4 separate regions of the Homo sapiens genome follow, and all the other regions are linked to region 3. Evidence: promoter capture Hi-C in 16 types of primary human blood cells and fetal thymus (Javierre and others, 2016). All regions are on one chromosome and are shown on one strand. Each heading gives the region's core, a stretch centred on a gene start or on the middle of the fragment in contact. The rest is flanking DNA. Distances are from core to core; before and after follow the strand shown.

Evidence for each region. Contacts are between HindIII fragments. The CHiCAGO score rates a contact against its expected background, and 5 or more counts as called.
Region 1: a fragment that was not itself captured here is called in contact with the fragment with the promoter of SKIDA1 in region 3 in 1 of 17 cell types (naive B cells); the score reaches 6.4 in naive B cells.
Region 2: a contact is called between a fragment that was not itself captured here and the fragment with the promoter of SKIDA1 in region 3, in 1 of 17 cell types (total B cells). The highest score is 6.4, in total B cells.
Region 4: a contact is called between a fragment that was not itself captured here and the fragment with the promoter of SKIDA1 in region 3, in 1 of 17 cell types (non-activated CD4 T cells). The highest score is 5.5, in non-activated CD4 T cells.

Annotation. Positions count from the first base shown.
Region 1 is chr10:22,568,891-22,572,226 of GRCh38, reverse strand. All of the region lies in intron 5 of PIP4K2A (phosphatidylinositol-5-phosphate 4-kinase type 2 alpha), which reads left to right. Among named protein-coding and RNA genes, the nearest start is that of LINC03027, 130 kb to the right of the region's middle. The HindIII fragment of the contact is 1,931 bases long and covers 559-2,489 here.
Region 2 is chr10:22,594,284-22,597,488 of GRCh38, reverse strand. All of the region lies in intron 3 of PIP4K2A (phosphatidylinositol-5-phosphate 4-kinase type 2 alpha), which reads left to right. Among named protein-coding and RNA genes, the nearest start is that of PIP4K2A, 120 kb to the left of the region's middle. The HindIII fragment of the contact is 548 bases long and covers 1,638-2,185 here.
Region 3 is chr10:21,523,992-21,527,078 of GRCh38, reverse strand. SKIDA1 (SKI/DACH domain containing 1) reads left to right here and starts at 1,397. Exons shown (of 4, transcript NM_207371.4): 1 at 1,397-1,532. RefSeq lists silencers at 373-522, 643-1,062 and enhancers at 718-1,361, 1,362-2,005. The HindIII fragment of the contact is 4,259 bases long and covers 1-2,193 here.
Region 4 is chr10:22,621,748-22,625,012 of GRCh38, reverse strand. The region is part of intron 1 of PIP4K2A (phosphatidylinositol-5-phosphate 4-kinase type 2 alpha); the gene reads left to right. Among named protein-coding and RNA genes, the nearest start is that of PIP4K2A, 91 kb to the left of the region's middle. RefSeq lists an enhancer at 887-1,387. The HindIII fragment of the contact is 1,615 bases long and covers 1,013-2,627 here.

The DNA of each region.
Region 1 (3,336 bases), core at 275-2,774, 1.0 Mb before region 3:
AGAGACCATTTGGGACCACAAAGCCTAAAACGTTTACCCACTGACTGTTTGCAGAAAAGTTTGCCAAACTCTGGTCTCTGACATTTGGTTCTCAAGTTTTTTGGTCTCAACGCTTTCACGCTCTTACAAGAGGACACTCGAAAGCTTTTGCAGATGTGAGTTGTGTCTGTGGATATTTACAGTATTAAAAATTAATATAAGAAATATTAGAATATGTAGTTTCTTTAAAAATGAGAAAAACATTACATGTTAACATTTTTATGAAAAATAACTATTTTCCAAAAGCAAAAACATGAATGAGACAAGTAGCATTGTTTTACATTTTTGCAAATCTCCGTAATGTCTTGACTTAATGTGAGATAGTTGGAATGTCCTGTCTGATTCCGCTGTCAGTCTGTGTGGTGTTATGCCGCTGAAGTATGTGAAGAAAATCTGAACTCACACAATAATGAAGTTTGGAAAGTTGTTAAAGCATGTTTTAACAACTTTTTTGGATAATTGTAGATATTCTTCTTTGATACTACACCAAAGCTTGACAAGAGGTAATTTCTCAAAGCTTAGTTACATTATGAAATCTGAAATCATATCAATGAACTTTTTGTACTCTTCATCGAAATCCATTGATTGGTTTGCATGCATTGTTTGAATGTGTGATTTTGCCAAGGCATGCACTTGCCATTTGGAACACATTGGTTCACTGAGTTATTTGACTCTTCCAAATATTGACACATTTCATTATACAGTATCAAAAAGTCATAACAGTGTTACCACCAATGTCATCAGAAAAGTCTTTTACATATTGGGAAGCGGTCAGGCCCAGGATGGTGGATATAAGTTTTTTAAAAATCAGTTTTTTACTTGGAATCTCAAATTTTATCACTGGCCACAAGCCCTGTCAGTTGTTTTCTGTGAAATGACCACATGTAGCAAGCACCCCAGCATACAGGGGAGCCTAGCAGCTTCATTCATTTTGTAGCAAACATCAGTCACATGCCCAGATCTAAATAAACATAGACTGTCAGTTGTTCTTTCAAGTAAAAGTGTTGTTTCATGAAAAAGATGGCCAGTTCAACTCATAACTCAAACCGTCACGAAAACAGTTCTTAAGAAATCATTCCTTCTTTATAAACAGAAGTGCTTTATGTATATTTCCTGCACAGAATATTGAAAAGACGTGTACTCCTGGGTCTAGATTTGATACATTTAATGTTATGCTTTCATGTGTTTACTAGATGCCTACTTGTATGACACACCATCTTAGCCAGAAGTTCAGCAACTCGTACACAGCTCACAAGTCACAAAAACCAGGATGTGTGGCTTCAGAGGTTTCTGAAATGACGCTGGGTTTCTTAGATGGTGCTGGTTTTTTTCATTGTTTTTTTTTTTTAAATCACAAACACTACTAATACCCACTGTTGCCACTGTTTGACTTATGCTAAACTGCTAGCAGTTCTTCCCACCATTGTTTTTGCATTATTTATACAAATATCAAGACGCTGAAAAAGGCAAATAATTTCTCAGTATTATTATAAAAATAGTTTTGGCTTTGTATAGTTTTGGTCTTGGGACCCCAGGGTTCTGAACCATGCTTAGAGAAATGCTAGTCTAAGTGAAGGAAATGGTCTGGGCTTGTCTCCTAACCTCTGAAGTCCCCACACACTGGATCCACTTCCCAAATACACCCTTGTCCTGTCCTGTCTTAAAGTCTTCGCCCAAGCAAGCCATTTTGTGCCCCTGGAATTGCCCCTGGGGAAATCCCAGCCATCCTCCAGGGCCCTTGCCAGCACCAGCTCTTTTCGTGAAGCCTTGGCGGTACTGCTCAGAGCACACAGGACTCTGTCTGACTTCCCCAGGGAAGAAAGCCAGAGTGACCTCTAAAGTCACATGTTGTTCTTTTATGACTTGTTAACCTTGTGTAAGTTGCTGAACCTCTATGACCCTCCGTCTCTTCATCTGTTAAAATAGGGATAATTTTACCTACATTTGCAGGGATGTTTTGAGAATTAAATAAGATACATATGTATTGTGTCCAGCGTGAGGCATGGCATATGGGAGTTAATGAATCTTGGTTGCCTCATTCATTCTCCTGATGTGTAAGTGCCTCAAGGGCAAGTATGTTCTTCTACTTAACTTTTTTTTTTTTAATCCCCCTGCAATGCCTAAGATAGCGCCTCGGACAAGTAGGCATCTGGTAAACATATCTTGGAGTAAATTATACTTAGAGATTGGATATTCTAGTTTTAATTTGCCTTGCTTTTTTCACAGTTTCATCTCCCTTTCTGGCTTGTGGCATAGATAAACTCTGTTCTTGCCAGTGCTCTCAGTTGTGATGGAACCTGTACATCTGGCATTGTTTCATGGCTTAAACTCTTGGCCTTCCTTTTCTATTTTTTTTAATAATTTTTTATTGTGAATTAATTTAAACTTGGATGAGTTTTGTGTTTTGTTGTTCCCAAGCTAATGATCAGCATTTGCATACAGATGAAGCTTCCCTGAGAATCAGAAGCAGGGTGGATTATATTGTAGGAGAGGAAACACACACACAGACACAGACAGACACACACACACACAGACACACACACCCCAAGAACTTGGTTAAGAATTCAAAGTAGAATAGTTTCTTCCTGTTCCCAGCATCATAGGCAGTGCTCAAGTATTACAAATGTCCCATTTTTAAAAAGTATTTGGGAACATTCGTTGTGAAAAATCAGTGTGTAAAGGAAGGTACTTCTGGTCCATATTCAGGAATCCCTAAAGGAAGGAAAGTAGACCATGGCAAGTAACAGTTGCTGGGCATGGCTGTGCAGAGGGGCTCGGACTGTGGTCGTAGAATGGGTTCTCAGGTTTGCCTTCATGAATGGTTCACATTATCTGTCTCCATCTGATGGGTCAGCTTTGGGCTGCTCTGAATCGCCCTGAGAAACATTGAACATTTTCCCTGGGCCAGCAGCAGCGTCCCTCGGATCTTCCAGTCCTGGGGGCACTGAGCACCAGGGGGATGGAAGATCGGCCCTGGGGAGACCCCCCCAGCCTGGTCTTGGCTCCCTTCCCCAATGTGAGGAGTCTCTTCCGTTCAAGTTTCCGCATCTGTGAATTGCAGGAAGCTCAATCCTAGTCAATGCCTGAGCTGCTCGATGAAAGCCAGTAATCAAAAATTTTGATTTCTTTGCAGATGGCCAATCTAAAAGCCACTTTCACTTTTCCCAAGCCAACTGTAAGTTCATTTAATGAATGGCTAACTCAAGTAACCCAGGGCAATAGATGTCTTTTCATCAGGTGGTAAAGAAGCAAGTGGCTTGGCTGACCTCACGATAGTTAGGGGTGTCCAGTGCAGGA
Region 2 (3,205 bases), core at 662-3,161, 1.1 Mb before region 3:
CAGAAACCAGTGACAGGAGGAAAACAAGAACCTCCGACAATTCTCAGACCACATAAACTAATTTAAATAGACATGATGCAGTGTGCCACATGGTCAGAAATGTGAAGAATTCTTAGGGTTGACATCGTCACCACAGTCAACAGGACTCACAGGAAATGCTAAGTGCTGGTCCTCCTTCAGCCCTGTGTTACGCTGTGTGAGTGCCTGACTCTGGGCCCAGGGCTCAGCAGCACGGTCTTCCTGTCCCAAAGGCTTATTCCACAAACACATCTGTCTCAGCTCCTGCGTGGAGAGAAGACAGCTCCTACTCTTCCTACTCAGTTAATGTAAAGTAATGAACAGTCCTAGAATGAGTTCAGATAGCTTTGTACACATGTTAATAAAAGTGTAAATAACAGACTCCGGACTGCATTAGCACTGTGGCTGTTACTGATATTTTCTACACACTTTACTTGGCAAAATCGAAAACCTGAAGACAGGTTTGGTTTTGTGCCAGCTGGCTCACACTCTAAATTGGCATTAGAAGGTGTATGTCACTATAGAAAAATGACTGTCCCTTCATAATGCCCACCATACTCTGGAGCCCAGGCAGGGAAGCAGCACGGCAGGGGGAGATGGAGGCTCTGGGCAGGGCCCCTGCAGGGCCCTCCATGTACACCAGCCCACCTGATGTTGGAGAACTGAGTTGGGCAAGTCATTTCTGCTCTCTGGGTCTGTTTTCTTATCTGTATATTGAGTGGTTTGGAATCATCTCCAAGGTTGCTTCCAACTCTAATGCTCTTTGAGGTTTATTTATACATGGAGGGACCCCTCGGGGGCACCTGAAGGTCACTCCCAAGCTCTGTTTCCATCAAGGGCCTCCCAACTTGTCCAAGCATCCAACATCATGCTGTGATTCCTTTTTCCTTTGCAACAAAACAAAGCACACTGAGGAGTTTCTTATTCAGTGTCAGTAGATAGACTGTTTTGAGGCAGCACAGTGACTGTGTTGAAGATATAAGACCTCCTTCCCTGAGCTCATGTGCTCGTTCTAGCTGACGTTGTCCTGAATACATCTGGAATCTGTGAAGTGTTATTTTCACTGCATGTTCTCTTTCATCTCAGCCCAGGTGTCCTAAACCATCATTAGGCCCCTGCTGAGATGATGGTTGTACTGTCTTCTGATCGGACTCTGTTTCTTGGGACGGTTGTCCTGAGTCACCTTCCGAGGCCCATGCTTTACAGCATTTCCTAGAGCAACGAGTCGAGTCTTCGAGTAAATCCTTTTTTTTTTTTTTTTTTTTGAGACGGAGTTTTGCTCTTGTTGCCCAGGCTGGAGTGCAATGGCACAATCTCAGCTCACTGCAGCCTCCGCCTCCCAGGTTCAAGCGATTCTCCTGCCTCAGCCTCCCGAGTAGCTGGGATTACAGGCATGCCCCACCACGCCTGCATAATTTTGTATTTTTAGTAGAGACGGGGCTTCTCCATGTTGGTCAGGCTAGTCTCGAACTCCCAGCCTCAGGTGATCTGCCCGCCTTGGCCTCCCAAAGTGCTGGGATTACAGGCGTGCCCCACTGCGCCCGGCTGAGTAAATCCATTTTTAGAGTCATAAAAGATCCAAGGTAGAGGTCTAATTCAGCCTGTTCTCTCCCCAAGCTTATTTTCCATCACTTCATAGACCCGGAAACTAAGGCTCAAAGAGACTAAATGCAATCTACAAGAACTGATGAATGTTCTAGATCTCAGACCAGTGCCCTCACCATTACCCTGTGCTGCTCAGGTTGGAGTGCGGTGGTGTGATCTCGGCTCATTGCAATCTCTGCCTCCCAGGTTCAAACAATTCTCGTGCCTCAGCCTCCCAAGTAGCTGGAATTACAGGCATGCACCACCACACCTGGCTGATTTTTGTATTTTTAGTGGAGACCGGGTTTCACCACGTTGCCCAGGCTGGTCTCGAACTCCTGGCCTCAAGTGATCCGCCCACCTCAGCCCCCAAAGCGCTGAGACTACAGGCATGAGCCACTGTGCTGCCTTTAAAAACACATGTCTGCTGCATGCCTTGGAAGAAGGCAAGAAAGTAAATGATAATAAAAATACATAAACAATTTTACTTTATTTTAAAGGCTACAAAAAGTCTATGATTATGATGACAGAAGTTTAGTCTTATCTTTGTAAATCGCCCTTTTTGGTTAGTTCATAGAAAGCTTTAGACAGGAATCTTAGGCACATTGCTTGGCTCCATTGTACACTAGTTTCTTTATCTTGAGGTGGGAAAAATGGATCTAGCTTTTCCTCTCTCACAGGAATATTGTGAAAATAAATATGAAATAATGAGTTGGATTTTTCCAGGCCTTAGAATCATTCCAAGGATCAGGTGTTTTGTATAGAATTGCATGAACTCTTTTGATTTCCTCCTTATCAGATAAGGCTTTTAATACACTTGATTTATGTATTTTTATATTCATAGTGATATGAAAGGTACATTCTATGTTTTGACACAGTGTTCCTAACTTCATTGGTTATTTCATGTTCATGAACCTTAAAAATATTCAGATAGTGTGGGTTGGGGCTACTCACGTGGATTATTAAAATGGTGATTTGAGACAGAATCAAGATTCGAATTTTTAAGGTTTTATATCCCAGGGTGAAGACATGGCTGATATCCTAATCCAGTGTCTGCATATATGATTATAGTAATGCCTTTGAAATTGAAAGAAAAGGCACAAACTGGGGAAGAGGTAGTATCTGAGCTAAGGAGTTCCTACATTATTTGCTTTTACGTTTCCAGCCCTTTATAAACCCATATGTTGCGCTGGGCATGGTGGCTCATGCCTGTAATCCCAGCACTTTGGGAGGCCAAGGCAGGCAGATAGATCACTTGAGGCCAGGAGTTCGAGATCACCCTGGCCAGAATGGCAAAACCCTGTCTCTATTAAAAATAAAAAAATTAGCTGGGCATGGTGGCACATGCCTATAATCCCAGCTACTCAGGAGGCAGAGGCACGAGAATCACTTGAGTCCAGGAGATCAAGGCTGCAGTGAGCCAAGATCGCACCACTGTACTCCAGCCTGGGCAACACAGTGAGAACCTGTCTCAAAAAATAAAAATAAAAAACCCTGTACATTGTCCTGGTACTGGTACATAGTATTATTAAACCCTTCTTTAATTAGTAAAGTAAATGCCATGAATTATTATTCTGAACTATAAAGTTTCCCATTTTAATCG
Region 3 (3,087 bases), core at 148-2,647:
CGCCCTTTTCTGAATGTATTTTTACAATTTCCCCCTTCATTTCCAAAAGTGGCTGAGAAGTCTCGCTTCCATCTTAATGTTGATTTGCTATTTCCCTCCGGAAAAGATTTCCTCAGGAAACCCCAAATCTAGAAGGAAATACAGCAAACCCTAGAACGCTTTTAACCCTTAAGACATCTTGTATTAAAAGAAAAAAAAAGCATGTATGTCTTAAAACCGGCCAAAGAACCATCTCCTCGCTCTTTATTTCCTCCTGTAAATGCTATTATTTTAAACTCTCCATTTTAAACTCGTCCTTCGGACGAGAGGGCAGAGAATGTGCCCGGCAGCACGCAGCAAATCAGAGGTTTTATCTTACGCCTCCTGGGACTGGGAAAAAAAGTGGAACGTGGCCGAGGGAGCTTCCAGGGCAGAAAAGCGACACAATTCGCTGGGGACGCCGCTGGGCCAGGCCAGGCGGGGGAGGCGCGGCGGGGGCGTCGAGGGCTCTCGGGCTCCGGGCCGGGGCGCCGCTGCGAGGAGGGGAGGCGGTTTTAAGTCATGGGGGCTGGGAGGGCGGCGGCGGGTCGGGCGTGACGAGACTTTCGGAGGCAGGATGGGGCGGCGGTGGAGTTGCCTGGGCTTTCTCAGCACCCCCCCCAACACACCCAAATAAAAAAAGGAAAGTTAGAAGGAGGCGGAGAGGAGGACAGCCATCCCCATTTCCTCCCCGCGACGCCGCGGAAGGGCTGGGGCCGCTGCGAGCAGAGAGAGGGCGCGGGATGAGGCGGGCCAATCGCAGTCAACAGGTCCAGGCCTCAGTGGGGCAGCTGAGCCGGGAGGCCGGCGCCCCCTCCCCTCGGCTCCCCGTCCCTCCCCTCCCTCGCAGGCCCGGCGCGGTAGGGGAGGCCCGGCCCGGCCCTCCCCGCCCCGCGCGGACTCGCTGCGGCCGACTCCGCCGGGGCAGTCGGGGTGGGGGTGGGGCGGGGGTTCCCCGCCGGAGAATCCTCCCCCGGGGCTGGCGGCGGGGGCGGGGAGCGAGAGCCGGGAATGGAGGATTAGGAAGGACTCCAGCTCGGCACGAGCGCGGCCCGCGCGAGGGATCCTGGGTAAAAAGTGGCCGCGCGGCACCGGAGAGCGCGGAGAGGAGCCGGGGTCAGGGGTCACGGCCCTGGAGCCCCGCGTGCAGAGCCCCCCACGTGAACGCAGCGAGCAGGAGGAACCTTTTTGTTTTCGACCGCGCCAGCATGCTCCCCTATTGACCGAGCTGCTTTTCCTGGGCTGCTGGGGAGAGGAGCTCCATTGCGGAGCTCTTAACCCCACCCCCACCTTCCACCGCCAACACACTTCCCAACTCAACCCTTCCTCTCAACTCTCATCCCAGCCCCCCGTCCTGAGCTTGCAATAACGCAGTAAATTTGCTTTAACAACAAGTGGGGGTGGTTGAATTTACTCCTCCCTCTCCTCTCTCCTCCCCTTCCTCTTGCTGCGGTTCTTGACACTACTACAAACCAGGACTATAAACATAAACATGTGTCACTGTAACAGGGCAGGTAATATACGGATTTTGAGGCGGGGTGGGGTGGAGCGGGGCTTGGTCGCCGCTTGGAGGGCAGTAAAAAGTCGCGTTTCACGTGCTCGACGGCTTTGGGGACTCCCGCACACATCGATCCGTTTATATAATGCCGAAGGCACTTGGTCACTTATTCAGCCACGCAGACCCACAAAGCCAGACTTGCGGATAACCAGCGTACCCCAAAGCAAATGCATTTCAATACGAATCCCTCTCCTTTCCCAGCCAGTGCTGCCATTTCTTCTATTAGCAAACAGTAACGTGATACTTGAATCCCCTTTCCTTTTTAAAAATTCTTTTCCAGATAGCCATGAGATCATTTTTCGACCTAAATAGTACATCTCTCCCATAGCCACTACCTACACATTTTGTGCGCAGAAACCCCTTCAAACAGCAAGAAAGTCTATTTAAATGACTGAGTTCGAAATCTGGTGTGCAAAGGGTATTTCTTGGGCTTTGCCTCCGTGCATTGAGCAACTTCTGCTGCAAGTTGCTGACACTGGCGCGGTGGAGATCCGCCACAGCAAGCCTTTTTTATTATTATTTAGTCTATATCTGCCTCTCAACTTTTTTCTCATTCTTAGTTCAACAAGCCAGCAACCACTACTTAAGGTAGAGTAAAGCGAATCCCTTCCCAAGCTTTTTGGCTTGAAACGGAGGGAGATACAGAAAATGTTCAGATGGGGAAGTGGTTCCCTTTGTTCTTTCATTGTTTCTCTACGAACTGGTGGATACAAGGACAAACACTTACCTTCTCTTCTTTTTGCTCCACAAACCAGACGTTCCCATCAGCCTTAAAATACACAATCCACCTTGAAAGTAACTACGGATGTCGGGAGAGTTTGTATTCCATTCTTTTTCGCTCTCTGCCCTCTTTTAGCGTAGGATTAAGTTGCAGAGCACGTTGCTGCAAGCTGTAGCCCCCCCCCCCCCCCGCCTTAGTGAATCGGTCACGTTTAGGACCCTCTAAGTCCATCCTAATTCTGCCAGTAGAATTGAGGGTATTGGAGCTCTAAACTTTCAAAAGGAAAGGGGCCTGCAACTCTCCAGAAAACTTACAAATACCCCGAAATTTTTTACCATTGTGTTTTTGCACCACATCACCAAATAGTATTTGCCAAGAAATAATAGATATGTCTTTGAGAAAAAAAAATTTTTTTAAGTTTATACTTAGCAATGCGCTGCTTAGACAGATGTAGTAAAAGGCAGGTTTGTATCGGCATTTAACGGAATGAGTGCGTTTTCCATAACGTTTGTTGTGCCATGTGTTTTTTTAAAACACAAACAAAACACTACCCCAACTGAGAAAGGAAATAGAAGTTTGAATTAAAATGTTGTGGAACAACTTTAAAAGAGACGTTTACTTGAAATTTATTAGTGTAAAAATTGGCCTCAGAAGTGAAAAGTAAGCTTTTCAAAGTTAAAAGACTTAATTTTCACCCTATGATTCCATAACAAAAAAGCGAATTTTCTGGTTAATATGTGATACTGTCAGTGTTGAGTGTCCAGTCTTTTGGGTCTTAGTGTCCAAACCT
Region 4 (3,265 bases), core at 571-3,070, 1.1 Mb before region 3:
GGAAGTTTATTGTGTTTTTAAACTTTTAACAAATAGATTCAAAAACCATTAACAAATGGGTTTGAAACTCTCTGGCAAGATTTCTAATACACTAGAATATTCTATTTCCAAGTTACTAAGTGTGCTGATATAAAAGTTTTCATAGGTGACACAGTTTCATTGTTTTTGGCAAAAAGATAACAAAACAGTGGAAATATTTTCAAACATCTGTTTGTATAATACTCTTTCAAAGCTTTGGTTTCTCTTGAAAAGCAGTTAATTTCTTACTCAATGTTGAGTCTCACCTTTACTTTGAAAGGAAGCGTAAAGTGTGCTGATTTTTTTTTCCCCCTGCTAGGTAACATACTACTGAGAAGCACCTCTGACCCCTGCAAAGGTCCATGAATTTGGAACACATGTTTTATAAGGGAAAAGTGCATGACTCATCTCCTAAATTCCACAACTTTTTTTTAAAGTGCTTGCATTCTTCTTCCCTCTCAACCATACACAGTAGTTCTTTGAATACAGGAAATAAGTTAGCAAATACCCGAAGCAGAGAAATGTTAGAATCATCTTTACTTTGATGCAATTCTAAAGCAAACTTCATAGGCTGTGTAATTTATTCTAATCCTTGAGTCTTCAAATATTGACTGGTGTTTCTATGCCTCTGCCCGCAGTATTTGCTGACAAAGGAATTCATTCAAATTTGATGCCATATTGGTTTTTACATGCTTTAAGCCATTTTTGCCTTGGTAGAAATAGCAAGTGCTTCTCCAGTAATATGTGGTTTTTAGTCTTTTCCTAGCAGAGGAACCCAGAAAGAAGCTTCTACATGTTAATCATTAAATTAATAAAATTTTGTGAAGTACTGAATTTGTAGTGTAGTACTGCCCAATGTTAAACATAGTGAAGAAAACTAGAGTTGTTTGTCTTCAGGTCCTGAGTGCTTAGATTTTAAATGACTTGCGCATTTTGATAGCTCTGGAGTATCATTAGCTGGTATCTCTAGGCACAGTGTACACTTAGGGAAGCTTTATCATGAACAAAAATGAATGGAAGCCCACATTTTAAATAAAGTCTTCCCAGTCATTTTAATTGTTGTGAACTATTCTTTTCATATCTGATGAAATCATCAGTGCTTTGACCTCATCATGTGACTGATAGCGAGAACCCTGGGAGCTCAGGGCTCAGTCTTAGGCCTGCCACGTGGCTTCTTGTTGATTGGTCCTGTGTGTTTAACATTAGCTTCAGCCCATGTGGTTGTTTTTCAGGCATCCTCTTAAGCACTTACCTGTTTTGTGAGCGTTGCTTTAGCTTAGTTAAAGCCAGATGGTATGATCTGCAAATCCACTTAACTGGGCACATGTAACCTACAATTGGTTGCAATGCACTGGACCTGAGCAGTGCACGGACGTCCCCTGCCAACCGCCAACCTCTAAGCTCCTACTGTTCCTGGGGGTACCTCCCTTCCAATATACAGCTCATGACGCTCACATTGGACTGAGGAGGGCATTCGTCAGACAAGCTGTGTAAAGGCAGCCTTTTAGTATAATGTACATAGAGAAGCTCTGCTGTCTTCTCCCCGAGGAGCACACCGCCCTTGTGGAAGACCCTTGCGACCCTTGCCTTAGAGCTGCGGTCTGCCCCTGAGTTAGACGCTTCCTTCGTGAGCACTTTGGTTTTTCTCTCCATCATTACTATGAAAATAACAAGTGATCAAGAATTTAAACAGTACGGAAGCTCACCATTACAGGTGAGCTTCACCCCCGACCCCAGACACCTAAACTTGATCTTTGTGCTTTTTTTGTGCTTTCTCAGTGAGTTTCATAGACAAACACATGAATGTGTAACCTTTTTTTTTAAAAAAAAAGTCAATGGTAGCACATTAAACGCATCTCTATCTCGCTTTTCTCACTCTGCACTATTTCTTAGAGAATGTTCCATGTTGGTTTACACAGCTATACATAATTATTTGCCCCGGTGTTTGCTAGGTAATATGCTTGTGCCATTATTTATGAATTTGTCATGTTAGGCATTTTCTTTTGAGTTTCTGCCAAGGCAGATGATGCTGGCTCTCTCACACCATCTCTTTTCTCCCCTCATCCTTCTTTTTTTTGAAATAATGCATACTTTTTTTGGTAAAATAATAGCATTCACCTTACTGTGACTCAGTTATTTTTAGTACTTTGTGAAGTACTAAATTTGGCGATTTAGTATTGCATGATGTTAAATAGCATTGAGAAAAAAATTATAGATTTGTTATAGTCTCCTTCATGCTAAAGGCTTTCCTCCCATGTCCGGTGGTTTGTTGCTCTCCAGTCAGGTTTTAGAACGAGGTGCTGGAAGACAGACGACTTGTCCCGGGTATGTGGAGTGGCGGTGCCCGTCCACTGACAGTGGGGAAGAGGCCAGCCTTTGTGCTGCCGCCCACTGGCGGAATTATTAATATTTCTAGGGCCTTTCCGCCAGAATGGGAATCCTCCAGTGTCCCCTCGGGGAGTGACCCAGGCCAAAGGTGCGATTGCAGCAGAGCAGGGGACAGCGGCAGAGGGCCCAGGCCTCAGAGCACAGATGGTAACTGGCTCCTCCCGTGCTCCGTGACGCCCAGCCCAGCCCTGTGTGAGCTGGGTCTTCCCGTGCCCGAAGCTTCTTGGGCTGGGGTTTCTGAGGAATCAGTCCTGTGCCTCTCATGCGATGGGATGGCATGGACAGCAACAGGCAGCGCACCGTCTTTCTGCCACCTGAACCCCAGCTGTGGAGCCCCTCAGCATCTGGGAGCACATGGCATTGAGTGGCCACCGGCACAGAGGTAGCAGCTTTGTCTCCTCTTCTGTCTGCTAACAATCCTCTACTACTTTTCTGTCTTTAAAAAATTCTTTGACATTTCTCGTTTTCTATTGTCTGCTCTCCAATGTTCTTGTCATGTTTGGTGGTGGTGTTTTTGATTTTCCCCCAATCTCTAACTTCCTTTACTGTCATCTTAGCAGAGCTTCTGGAAGGAAAAGAGATAAAAATGCATGGTCAGGTCATCTCTTAAAATGGGAATCCGGGAAAGCAGTGTAAATGGCAGCATGGTACCCTTCCTCTCATTGTTCTTTCAGGATGGATGCTGGGCAGGAAAGCAGGCGGCCCCTCTGTTGTGGTCATGGAAAGAAAAACAAAAGTTCTGGTGTAACAGAATTAGGATTTCATTGCTTCCTTCTGGAATCTTAACGAAGGTCCCAACTGTGAAGTCTGCTGAACACATCTCAGTTCAAAATGCTGAACTGTACATGCCATCCCCTTC